Regions from separate parts of the Homo sapiens genome. Here regions 2 and 3 are each linked to region 1. The links are contacts of gene promoters, found by promoter capture Hi-C in blood cells and fetal thymus (Javierre and others, 2016). All regions are on one chromosome and are shown on one strand. The core of a region is centred on a gene start or on the middle of the fragment in contact, and the rest is flanking DNA. Distances in the headings are between cores, read along the strand shown.

Region 1 (4,304 bases), core at 605-3,104:
GCCAGGGGAGGTTATTTTCTGCTGTTTTCCCTTTCTGTCTCCCCCGCCACCCGTGTCCCTCCTCCCCGTTTCTAATTAAAAAGGAGATAAAGCCGCACGCGGCCCGAGTCAATCGGCTCGAGCCAATCGGCCCTACTGGCTTCCTGGATGCTGAATGTGCGCGGGGCGGCGGGGCGCGGGCCAAGATGAAGATTAAAGCAGGGGAAAAAAAGGAAAGCCACCCAGACGCGGGCGAATCAATAACACTTAAAACACACCGGCAGGCTGGCGGTACTGGCGCGAGCCCCGCAGCCGCCTCTCCGCCGCTGGTCGGGCTGGCGGCCCCTGGTCGGCTCTGCACGCACCTGCTAGCGGCCGCGGCCGGACAACTTGCGAAATCCCCGCTCCAGAGACGTGGACTGGGGAAGTGACGGGGTAGGGGGGTAGTAGTGACAAAACACAAAGGGTCTGCCACGCACATCCCCTCGCCGCAGCCCCTGCGGTCCACCCCTCCTCAAAAGGGATGGTAATGGGTTCACTGCTGGGGGCTGGAGGGGCAGGGTGTGTGAGACCTACCAAGCGGGCCCTTCAGCGCCAGAACCTCTATCCATGCCCAGATCCCCCCGCCCCCACACCGCTCCGAGCCTCACACGCGTTGTCTTAAGTACAAAGGGTGACCGGCTTTGCACAAGCAGCTCCAGGACGCGTCCCGAGCTGCCCCCTCCCACCTTCCAGCCAGAGCGCCCCCGAGCCCCACCTCCACAGAAACGCTAGGTGAAGCCGGAGGGCTGCTCGCGCGCCCGGCCGCCTCTGCTGCCCAGTTCCAGGGGGCGGGGTGTCCCGCCTCTCTCTAGCGCTTGTCTCCCTCTGTGTCTCAGACCGCCTCTCGTCCCACCTTTGTGTGTGTTTGTTGGGGGTGGGACGTGCTGTCCCCTTGGCCCGGGAAGGGGCTCTGGGAGTCTAAGGGCCCCTGGAAATTGGGTGGTGCCAAGGCTCCGAGCGGCGGTTTATGTTTTTGCCAGCGAATGTCCTTCCTCCTGGGTACCTGTTCCCTGTTTGCACGGACCGGCCCCGCCAGCCACCTGGGGACTGCCCAGTCTCTAGGAACGGCTGTGCCGCGCCTCCTGAGAGAGTTCGTCTCGGGCTCCGGGGACTGAGCTCCCCGAGATTGGCTGTGGTCCTGGCTTGATGTTCCTGCTAGACCTGCTGTCCCTATGCCCGGGTCCGAAGGGTCCCCGGGATGGGCTGAACCTTTGCAGCAGCTAGCCCTCCCCCAGAGTCCCTCAGGCTGGAGCGTCCCTACCGGCTGTCTCTGGTCCTGGGGGATTCCAGACTCAGACGTCCTCAGGATGGCCAGTCCCCCTGCCTATATCTCCTGGGGTGTCCTGCGGGGGGCCTTTGTGCGTCCACCGCTCCCACACCGCACCCACCCGGCCTCTCAGAGAAGCTGTGGAAGTTGGCCGGCAGAGGCTCGCAGGCGGCACACCTCCCTCCCCGGGCCGTGCCAACTTTGTCGAAACACGCGCGGAAAGGGCGCAGGCAGCCCTTACCCGATCCGGAGGTAGACCATGCCCAGGCTGAGAAAGAGGTGGCCCAGGCAGCGCCGCGCTTTCCGGTTCATAGTCCCGATTGGCCGCCGGGGCCGCGGGCCGGGCTGTGCTGATCCCGCGGGCCGGCCCCGGCGGGGCAATCAACATAGCCCGCCCGGGAGGCGCGAGCCGAGGCGTCCCCGGGGCCGTCTGTCGGTGCGCCCGTCCGCGCGCTCCGCGCCTGAGCCTCGCCAGGAGCACGGGAGCCACGGAGCGGGAGGAGGGAGGGAGGAGCGAGCGCGGCGTGGGGCGACGCCGGGCTGCGCGCGAGCGACCGGTGCAAGTGTGCGAGACGCGGGGAGTGCGGGGGCGCTGCTGCCTCCAGCCCCCGCCCCTCCCTCCTTTCCCCCGTCCCTCCCCCGCCCCCTCCCCCGCCCGCCTCCCCGGAGCGCCCGCCCAGCGCCCCTGCGCCCGCGGGACAGGGCCGCCTGCACAAGGCGCGCGCTCGCGCCTTTCCATGCGCGCTCCCGGGGGCCCCCTCCCTGCTCCGGGGTGCAGGTGGCAGGCTGGGGAGCACAGCCCGGTTGGAGGCGGTAGGAGCCCGCTCGCCCCCCACCCGTCACTAACTTGCAGATTGCAGGGCGAGTGGGCGTCCAGAGGCTGCCCTCGGGTGGAGTGGACCAGACTCGGCCGAGAGGCCTAGTGCCTTGGTCTGCTGCCCTGCTCCCTCCAGCCCGGAACAGGGAGCTGGGGCTGACAGGGCACACCCCAGTTCCCCAACCCCAGCTTCAGGGGAGGGCGCCCCCTTTCGCGGAGCGACGGGCTGACTGGCTCAGTGTATTTCTTCCCTACTCCCACCTATTCGAGAGTGGCGGCAGGGGGTGCCCAGGTTGGGCAGCCTCCTCTGGGATCCTGCTGTTAGCCGACAGACTGAGTCGGGCTGAGGCCCAGTTGCCCCGCGCGGAACAGCAGTGGGGCGCCTGAGCCGCGGGAGCGTGAGGGGCGCAGCTGGCCGCTCAGAGCGCGCTCGCGGCGTCACCAGGCGGACGCGGCGGGTGGTGCACCTCGGCCTCGCTCCCGGGAACAGAATGCTTTGAGTGCCCTGGCCGACCCGAGGGGGCTAACACCCTTCTTTGGTGTACACCTCATCCAGTGAGCTAGGGGGAGTCTAACCGTCCCTGGAAATTGGGTGGTGCCAAGACTCCGAGCGGCAGTTTATGTTTTTGCCAGCGAATGTCCATCCTCCGGGTACCTGTTCCCTGTTTGCACGGACCGGTCCCGCCTGCCACCTGGGGGTTGCCCAGTCTCTAGGAGCGGCTGCGCCTGCGCCTCCGGAGAGTGTTCCTCTCGGGCTCCAGGGACTGAGCTCCCTGGGAGTGGCTGTGGTCCTGGCTTGGTGTTCCTGCTGGACCTGCTGTCCCTATGCCCAGGTCTGGCAAATCTGAACTCAGGTTTCAGCTGAAGACACTGAGGCTCAAGGAGGTGAAGGTGTTTGCCCAGAGTCACCAGCTAGCGAGTGGCACAACCATATGGGAAACAAAGTATGCCCAACTGTAGTAACCTCCTGCACCCAGTCCTGACTATCCTTCAAGATTGCCTTTCTAAATTACACACACACACACACACACACACACCCGAAAGCCACCATTCAGGTATTCATTCATATTCCATATTCTGTGCCAACCACGATAGTGGGCACCGTGGACACAAGGAAGAAGAAAGGCAACAGTCTTTCTTCTTGGGGCCAGGAAGGAGACAGATGATAAGTGAACAAGAACAGAGTTGCAGATAGTAGACCATTAAGCAGGGTGATGGGAGAGGGAATACTGGGTGTTGGAGGGTTAATTTTAGATCTGAGGAGGTGGCATTTGAGGTGAGGCCTGAAGGACACAGCATCAGGGGTCCAGCACTGCAGGAAGGGGACCAGCAGGTGCAAAAGCTCAGAGGTGGGCATGAGCCCCAGGGAGGAGATGGTGGGCTGCAATAGAGAGAGAGAGAAGGCCTGAGCTTGAAGGGAGATGGGGATACACAGATCCACAAAGCTGTGTGGGCACGTCAAGGAGCTTGGATTTCAGTGGTGTGTTCAGCTGGGGACATTGGAGGGATGAAGAAGGGGGTGACTGATCTGATTTGTGTGTTCAAAAGCTCCCCGTGGCTGTCCTAAGGGAACACACTGTGGGAATGGGGACAGGTGAGTAAAGTGCGCCATCAAGCAGACCAGAGAGGAGATGACAGTAGGGGTCCAGGTGAGACATTGGTAGTTTGGGTTAGGGTGGTGCTCTTAGAACATGACCACAAAATTATTTGACACTCCTCCCATGAAGAAGTGGGTTCTCTGTGCTCTGCCTGCGTGAATCTGGGTGGGCTTGTGATGGCTTCCACCAATAAGATGTAGCAGAAGTGATGCTCAAAAATTACAAGTCTTCGCGATAAAAGACAATGCAGTCTTTGTTTTGTTGGCTGGCGCACCAGTGCTGGGGCCCTGAGCCACCATGGAAGAGGCCTAGAGGCCACCATGCTGTGAGGAAGCCCAGGCATAGGCAGAGGCCACCTGTGCTTGCTCCAGCCCACAGTCCCAGGTGAGTTCAGCACTGGAGTCACCTTGCCCAGGTGCCAGAAATGTGGGTGAAGGTACCTCCACCATTATGTCATGCTGGCTTTGTGTCTGCCAAGCTAAAGCATGGTGGACAGTGGCCGTGTAGTATCCCCAGTGTACCCTGCCCAACTTCCTGAGCCCTATAACTTGTGAATATAATGATTATTTTGCCACTAAGTTTGGAGGGGATGCTTGTTACA
Region 2 (4,304 bases), core at 1,005-3,504, 410 kb before region 1:
AGCATTTGAGCAGATGGGCCTCATCACTGATATCAATATGATGCAAACCTGTGTGATGAGAGGCTGGTGACATCAAAGATGATAAGGACAATGAATGTTGTAAGATGGGGACCAGTGGGCATGTCCTCGAGTGCTGGGAAGGAGCCCAGAGCCCACTAAAGCTTCATGAGCCCCATCATCCAATAACCTGAAGAGAACCATGTCTAGGCCTAACCTTGGCCGAGTTTGAGTCTCAATGATTTCCCTGCAGACTACAGACTGCTTGACCATGCAGAGTGTATTTAAATAATGAAAGCACACGCTAACACGGATGAAACACCTAAATGTAAGAGCTAAAACTATAAAACCCTTAGAAGAAAACACAGGGGAAAATCTTCATGACATTGGGTTTGGCAATAATTTCTTGGATAGGATACCAAAAGGATAGACAGCAAAAGCAATAATAGACAAATGGAATTACATCAAACTTAAACATTTCTTCACCTCAAAAAAACCAACAGAGTGAAAAGGCGACCTACAGAATAGGAGAAAATATTTACAAATCATATATATGACAAGAGGCCAAAAACCAGAATATATAAAGAAGTCCTAAAACTTAACAACAACACAATAAAAAATGAATAAGGGTCTTGAATAGACATTTCTCCAGAGAAGATATACAAATACCAACAAGCACACGAAAAGGTGCTCAGCACCACTAACTAGTAGGGAAGTGCAAATCAAAACCACAATGAAGGCTGGGCGTGGTGGCTCATGCCTGTAATCCCAATACTTTGGGAGGCTGAGGCGGGCTGATCCCCTGAGGTCAGGAGTTAGAGATCAGCTGGGCCAATATGGTGAAACCCCGTCTCTACCAAAAAATACAAAAATTAGCCGGAAGTGGTGGCACACGCCTGTAATCCCAGCTACTGGGGAGGCTGAGGTGGGACAATCACTTGAACCCGAGAGGTGGAGGTTGCAGTTAGCTGGGATAGAGACACTGCATTGCACTCCAGCCTGGGTGACACAGTGAGACCCTGTCTCAAAAATATATTTATAATAATAAAAAATTAAAAAAAACCCACAGTGAAATGTCACTTCTATTAGGAAGTGAAATGTCACACTATTAGGATTGCCACTATTGAAAAAAAAAAAAAGAAAATAACAGCTCTTGGCAAGAATGCGAAGAAATAGAACCCTTGTTCTGATGTGGGAACGCAAAATGGTATAATTGCTGTGGAAAACAGTATGATGGTTCCTAAAAAAATTAAAGATAGAATTGCCATATGATCCAGCAATCCCACTTCTGGGTACATGTCCAAAAGAAGTGAAAGCAGAGACTCCAATGGATATTTGCACGTACATGTTCATAGCAGCATTATTCACAATAGCCAAGAGGTGGAAAGAACTTAAATGTCTATTGACAGATGAATGAATACAGAAAATGTACTCTGTTCATATGATGGAATATTACTTAGCCTTAAAAGGGAAAGGAATTCTGAGCTAAGCTACGACATGGATGAATCTTGAGGACATTATGCTAAGTGAATAAGCCAGTCACAAAAGGAAAAATACTGTGTGATTCCACTTACATGAAGTACCTAGGGCAGTCAATTTCATAGACAGAAAATGGAATGGGGGGTGCCGGGGCAAAGGGGAGGGGAAAGAGCGAGTTAGTGTATAAGGAGAAGACAGTTTCAGTTTTGCAAGATAAAAAAGTCCCAGAGGGCCAGGCGTGGTGGCTCAAGCCTGTAATCCCAGCACTTCGGGAGGCTGAGGTGGGCAGATCACCTCAGGTCAGAAGTTCAAGACCATCCTGACCAACATGGTGAAACCCCATCTCTACTAAAAATACAAGAATTAGCAGGGGGTGGTGGCGGGTGCCTGTAATCCCAGCTATTCAGGAGGTTGAGGCAGGAGAATCACTTGAACTCAGGAGGTGGAGGTTGCGGTAAGCAGAGATTGTGCCATCGCACTCCAGCCTGGGCAAGAGAGTGAGACTCCATCTCAAAAAAAAAAAAAAAAAAAAAAAAAAAAGAAAAAAGAAAAAGGAAAAGAAAAAGAAAAAGAAAAAATAGTTCTAGAGACCTGTTGCACAAGGATATTTAACACTACTGAACTGTATACTTACCCATGGTTAATATGGTAAAGTTCATGATTTTTGTGTTTTTTTTTTTCGAGATGGAGTTTCGCTCTTTTTTTACCCAGGCTGGAGTGCACTGGTGTGATCTTGGCTCACTGCCCCCTGGGTTCAAGCAATTCTCCTGCCTCAGCCTCCCGAGCAGCTGGGATTGCAGGTGCCCGCCACCATGCCTGGCTAATTTTGTGTTTTTAGTAGAGATGAGGTTTCACCATGCTGTCCAGGCTGGTGTTGAACTCCTGACCTCAGGTGATCGGCCAACCTCGGCCTCCCAAAGTGCTGGGATTACAGGCATGAGCCACCGTGCCTGGCTGGTGTTTGTGTGTGTGTGTGTGTGTGTGTGTGTGTGTGTGTATGTGTGAGAGAAGTCTTGCTCTTGTGCCCCAGGCTTGAGTGCAATGGCTCGATCTCACCTCACTGCAACCTCTGCCTCCCAGGTTCAAATGATTCTCCTGCCTCTGCCTCCCAAGTAGCTGGGATTAAGGCTCCTGCCACCACGCCTGGCTAATTTTTGTATTTTTTAGCAGAGACGGAGTTTCACCATGTTGGCCAGGCTGGTCTCGAACTCCTGACGTCAGGTGATCTGCCTGCCTCGGCCTCCCAAAGTGCTGGGATTACAGACGTGAGCCACTGCGCCCGGCCTGGCTGGTTTTTACTACAGTTAAAACTCAGACACTGGTGGCCAAATCTTGTTAAATTTTCAAATGCTTCCCTTACCCTCCCATGTTGCCAAATTCATTCCTACTTGTCACTGAAGCTGCAATGTCCAGTCCATGGATGGCTTATTTCACACAGCTTCTGGTGTAGGTTCCATTAGCTGGGAAAACTTTTCAGGTGGGAGTAACATGAAGCACATTTCTTTCTGTTTGTGTGTGTGTTTTTTGTTTTTTTATTTTTTTTGTTTTTTTGAGATGTAGTCTTGCTCTGTCGCCCAGGCTGGAGTGCAGTGGCACAATCTCAGTTCACTGCAAACTCCACCTCCCGGATTTAAATGATTCTCCTTCCTCAGCCTCCCCAGTAGCTGGGATTACAGGTACCTGCCACCACGCCTGGCTAATTTTTGTATTTTTAGTAGAGATGGGGTTTCACCATGTTGCCCAGGCTGGTCACGAACTCTTGACGTCAAGTGATCCACCCTCCTCAGGCTCCCAAAGTGCTGGGATTACAGGCGTGAGCCACCTCACCCGGCCAGTCTTTAAGGTCTTGAGCTAGGTCTGGACCCATAGGCAGGTTGGATCTGGATGCTGGGCTCTGAAAGGTCACACTTAGTGGTGGAGACAGACATAAGAACAAATAATGAAGATGAAGCCCATGCAGGCTGTGTTCATCCAGGCACAAATGTTTAGTGGATGCAGATTGGTGCCAGGCACTGTGCTGGGTACATGCAGTAAACAGAGATGTCACCTCTGCCCTCTTCGAGCTTGCAACCTAGTGGAGGAAGTGAGTTAACAGGTGAGTAAACAAATATGTCTGTGTACGCATGGGTAATGGTACAAAGTCTGGTGAATACTCTGAAGGGCAAGAACAGGATGCAGCGATGGAGAACACCAGGCGTGGAGGGGTGCTGCTTACATTTGGTGGCCAGGGAAGACCTCTCCCGTCACGTAGCACAGTTATTGGCATGCAGTCCCCACCCTTCAGCGTTCACTGTTGGTGGCTTCCGACTGCATGTCCCTGTGATTCAGCCTGTGGGCTTCCTCTGGCTTCAGGGGCGTGCCTGGCCAGTGTGAGGCAAATCAGAATTGTGGGGGTTTAACATCCCTGGCAGTAGCCCTCAGCAAATGATGGACAGGAGTTAGAGGATGAATATTCCAGCCACCGGAGCCCTGCGCACCCACAGCTGTCTTCTGCTCGTTGACATACCTTGTACTGGCTCCCTTCTGTCCCTTTCTTACCCCCTCTCACTCGCTCACCAGTACTTCTGGAATCACCTTCCAAATGAACCATTTGCATCAAATCTGTGTCTCAGGGCCTCATTGTTGGGGAGCTCACACTAAGACAGAGGTGACATTTACCCCAAGGCCTGAAGGATAAGAAGGAGCTGGTTAGCTAGAGTGTTGCAGGGACAGCTGTGGTGGCTGGAAGAGCATATGTGAAGACCCCATTTGAATCTACCATTTCCCAGAAACTGAGAAAGCTATTAAAACCTCCCCCAAAAAGTTCCAGGCCCACATAGTTTTGTGGG
Region 3 (4,304 bases), core at 779-3,278, 360 kb before region 1:
CTGATACACTTTCCATTTCCCTGATCATAGGGATGGTTTAGAGATATCATGTGACTCAAGAGTCCTTACATTACTTTTACATTTTGAGTGGAAGAGGAAGGACTTTATCTTCTGAGTTATCAAGTTTTAGAGAAGCCATATTTCCCACCACAAACAGAAAGCCTGTCTGAGGTATGAAATAGTAAAACGAAGGGAGAAAAAGAAAAAACATGATGGAAAAGAGGGAATTCTGGTGATGTCAAGATAGGGCTGCCATGAGCATCTGCACAGGTTGTGCACTGCACAACTCTCGAGGCTGCTGTTACACGGTAATCACAGTAGATTTGTGTATTGATTAAAATAATTTTCTAGTAGGCACTAGTAAAGTATTTTGAAGAAGTGGAGCCTTTTTCTAATTTGCAAACAATTGCTGCAAAGGCTAGTGACCATGCCATAATCAAGACCCTGATTTTAATCCTTGAGTCCCCAGAGCTTCTCTAGCTCGATAAGTACTTGGTGTAATTTATTATTTTGGTGAATTCCCTTTGTTGTTAAGTTCTGCTCACAGCAGAACCATTGATAACTCAGACACTCACAAGATGCATCAAGCTTATTTTCTACTTTCCAGAGCAAACCCTTAGCGCTTTTAGAAATAACAGCTCAACAATAAGAGAGAGACAGAACAACCGTTAAATGCAGACATAAGAACAAGAATAACAACAAAATATCAGTTTGGGGCCATTTGTGTAGGTGCAAGTAACGTTCCCTATCTCACTGAGCACCAAGACCTTCACTGTACTGGTCTGTGGCCTGAAAATGGTTCACCATGGTAATTAACGCAGAGAAGACATTGTGTAGACTTCATGTCCTCTTAAAATAGTTAAATTATAACTGTGTTGTTGTCTAAAAGGAAAGACCAAAATTATCTAGAGAGTTCTCATCTGTGTGGCTTAAGCTAGATGAATAACGTATCATTGTAAAAGGATAGTGTCAGCCAAGGTCCAGCCCCCAGCTGTCCCCAGTGTAGGAGGTGGCCCCACTGGCAGCATCCCTGACACCACTCTGACCTGCTCAGGACAGCTCTTTCTCACTCCCCTAAATGCCAGGAGTTTCCAGAAAAAGTCTGGGGGAGGCTGTGGGCTCTGGGGTCAGACACTCTGGGGTGGGGTCCCTTTCCAGCAAGGTGACTCTCAGCAAGTGGTTCCCCGACTCGGAGCCTCGGCTACCGCTTCTCTAAAATGGCAATGGCCATACCCACCTGGGGGGCCATTGGGAGGGTCGGGCGGGCCTGGGAATGACCCAGCACACAGTAGGTGCTCAATGAGAAGCAGCTGGCACCAAGGTGGGATCTGGGTGAGTTCAGAGCCCAGGCACGAGGGCTCAGAATCTCAGCTCGGCCTTGCTGAGTGCTTGGGCGATTCACTTCGTCTCCCAGAGCCCCAGTTTCCTCAGCTCAAACTGAGATCCCCAGGGAGTTGAAACAAGCAAGCATTCTTGAGACTGTGTGTTTCCTTGCCTGTTCTTCCTGCCAGGCAGTAAAGGGGCAGGATTGGGTCTGTCCCTGACTCGACCCCCGGAACAGGGCCTGCGGTGCTTAGTAGGCGCTTGGTAAAGACTCAGTCATTTGCTCCAGTCGGGAGGGAAGTTGGCTGGTGCCTGCTGGGGGGCTCCCCCTGCCCTTCTGACTGTGGGGAGCAGGCCCAGAGCCGACTTTGGCCAGGCCGGGGTAGAGGCCTGCTTCTGCCATCCCTGGTGGGCCCCAGCGTCTCCTCTGAATCCCCACCCTGCTCCTGAGCAAGTGCTCCCATCCCCCACCCTGCTCTGGCGGCTTGGCATAGGTGGGACACCAAGCCTGGAGCTCCCGGCTGCTCCAGCCACCCGAGCCAGCCCCACAATTGTTTTTCCACCTGGAGCGTCCAAGGAGTTGCTGGCAGCCAGGCCAGGCGGGGGAGGCGGGGGGCGGTGTTGGAGGAGACATCAGTGGGCGTGGGAGGAACAGGCTTCACCCTTTCCATCCACAGGGGTACCGGTACTGGGATAAACTGGACGGCACTGGTCAGGGCCCACTTTCCTTTGACCTTAGGTGAATGACTTAACCGCCCCAGTCTCATTTACTTCATCCATAAAATGGGGATAATATTAGTAGCTGCCTCTTGGGGTTGCTGTGAGGAATAAATGCGTCAGCTCATGTAAAGCACTCAGAACCATGCCCAGAAGCAAGTGGTCTTGATGGCAGCCCTTGCTATAGGCACTCTAGGCTGGATGCGAGGGTTCTGCCGCACACAGCTGCCTGGTGTGGGCCAGCCACGTCCACTGTCTCTGCGTACCATGTGCACCCACAGCAAGCCTCCGGAGGTGACAGCCCCTCACAGAAGCTGCAGGAAGTAGAAGCGGAGTGGGTGGCAGCTCCCTCCCTTGCTTCCTCAGCTTTCTCTCCCCTTCTTTCTTCCACCAGCCTGGCAGGTGCCCCCAGAGGCAGGGGATGGGTCCCCTGACCTCGGGGAGGACCCCCAGCCCCATCAGCCGCGGAAATGGTGGACCCGCGGGCCCTGGGCTACTGCCATGCTGCAGCCCTCGGAGGAACTGAGCAGGGACAGGGCCAGCCTGGGTCACCCGATGCAGCTGCACAGATGTCAGGCCCGGCATAGCCGAGGTGTGGTCAGGCTAGGTTCCCCTGGGCCCCGCTATGGGAACAGGCTGTCCCGACAGCCTGGCTGCCATCCCTTGCTGCTGTTGTTTGGAAGATAGAGCAGTCATCAGCCCCAGCCCCCGGCAGCCCCACCCTCCCCTCGGCTTCTGCAGCTCCCAGGCCTGGGACAGTCCCTGGCTGACCCAGGTTGTGCACTGGGTGGCCTGAGGCAGGCCCTGACCCTCTGTCGGCCTCCATCTTTTACCTCTACTGAGAAACCGGGGGCGGAGCCCTCTGTCCCTGCTGCCCTTCCAACTCAAGGCCCAGGAAAAAGGACAGGAGGCACATGGTGGGGTCCGGGGCCAGGGTGCTCACATGTGCTTAGTGAGCACCAGGAGCCACCTTAGAAGGAAGGTGAGGGATCTGTAACCTTGGTCAGGACAGCCACACAGGAACTGTCTCCTGGACCCAGGAGGAGCAGCAGGACCCAGCCTTCTAGGCAGCAAGGGAAACTGAGGCAGGAGCCCAGTTATAGGGCCTAATAAACTTGATCCAGGAGGAGGCAGCTACTGCGTGGAGACTTGGGCTCCAAGGTCCTTGTGAATCCAGGGTCCAAGACCATCGACCTCCAGCCCTACCCACTGATGGGAAGGAGGCTGCCATCTTTCCCATGCCCGCTCAAGTGAGGCTCAGGCCCCAAGCATGGCAGGCTGGTTTCAGGGGCATTGAAAATGGGTCCTGGGTTCAATCCTGCCTGTGCCACTTCCTGGCTGTGTGACCTTGGGCAGGTCCTTTCTCTCTTTTTCTCCATTTCTTCTATAAAGCGGGACAGTAATGCCACCAACACAATGCCGTAGAGGTAAAGCTTGGCTGTCATGTACACCAAAGGCTTGGTCTGCAGTCTGACCTCTGTGCCTCTGTCTTCCTCCACCTCCCCTTATCCATCCAGAGGGCCCGAGGAAGGAAGCAGGCACGGGTGGGGTTTGCTCTGGCACTTGCTTCGGAGTCCTTGGATACCTCCAGGCAAGTCCTTGATGCTTTTCCCAAACGATGCCAGCCCAGGGATGGATTCTCTGCCTATGGGAACTTGGGTCCATCCCAGGAATGTAGGCCAGACGGTGGGGAGGAGAAAGTGCAGGGTGGAGGCTCGGCCAGCGTTCTACCAAGGTCTCTCGGGCACGAGGTGAAGAGTGGGCACCCGCCTGCAGAGGCAGTGCCAGGGACTGTCGGCCTGGGCTCAGCACAAATGTTGTGGCTGCCCCCCCAAGGGTTGGTGGCAGGAGGCCCGGGGAAGCCTGCAGGCGGGAGCAGATATGTTCTGCTTGGAAGGATGCTTGGGACAAAGCCAGCTCCGGGAGCTCCTCGTGTGGCTGGACACATGGGGCAATTCCTGGGCTAGGGGAGGAAGGCGGCGCCTGCTGAGGGGAGGGAGGGCATCTTGCCAGGGTTGGCAGAGTCTAGGGCCTGGGAGCTGGGACCAGGCATCAGGGCCTGGGGCCAAGGCCTTGGGAGGGCTGGCGAGACCCAGGCAGGCCCCAGCCCGTGGGCCTCGCAGACCAGGACTCTGGGTTCACTGTGCCTTGGGTGTCGCACACTCAGCCCTGAGTTGTCCTCAGGGCTGGTCCTTCCCTTCCCCGAGGCTGACCCTGGAGGGGCGGCTTCCTGGGTTGGGGGAAGCTTGGTGACAGTGCTTCGG

Evidence for each region. The method cuts DNA at HindIII sites, captures the fragments that hold promoters and counts their contacts. A CHiCAGO score of 5 or more calls a contact.
Region 2: a fragment that was not itself captured here is called in contact with the fragment with the promoter of WNT7A in region 1 in 1 of 17 cell types (naive CD4 T cells); the score reaches 5.4 in naive CD4 T cells.
Region 3: a fragment that was not itself captured here is called in contact with the fragment with the promoter of WNT7A in region 1 in 2 of 17 cell types (megakaryocytes and M2 macrophages); the score reaches 6.3 in megakaryocytes.

The regions. Positions count from the first base shown.
Region 1 is chr3:13,878,217-13,882,520 of GRCh38, forward strand. It overlaps WNT7A (Wnt family member 7A), which reads right to left and starts at 1,855. Exons shown (of 4, transcript NM_004625.4): 1 at 1,530-1,855. The coding sequence starts at 1,600. RefSeq lists enhancers at 328-829, 1,332-1,833. The HindIII fragment of the contact is 8,507 bases long and covers 1-4,304 here.
Region 2 is chr3:13,467,450-13,471,753 of GRCh38, forward strand. No RefSeq gene overlaps it. Among named protein-coding and RNA genes, the nearest start is that of HDAC11-AS1, 10 kb to the right of the region's middle. The HindIII fragment of the contact is 4,191 bases long and covers 160-4,304 here.
Region 3 is chr3:13,514,786-13,519,089 of GRCh38, forward strand. No RefSeq gene overlaps it. Among named protein-coding and RNA genes, the nearest start is that of FBLN2, 32 kb to the right of the region's middle. RefSeq lists enhancers at 1,185-2,113, 3,487-4,304. The HindIII fragment of the contact is 2,885 bases long and covers 587-3,471 here.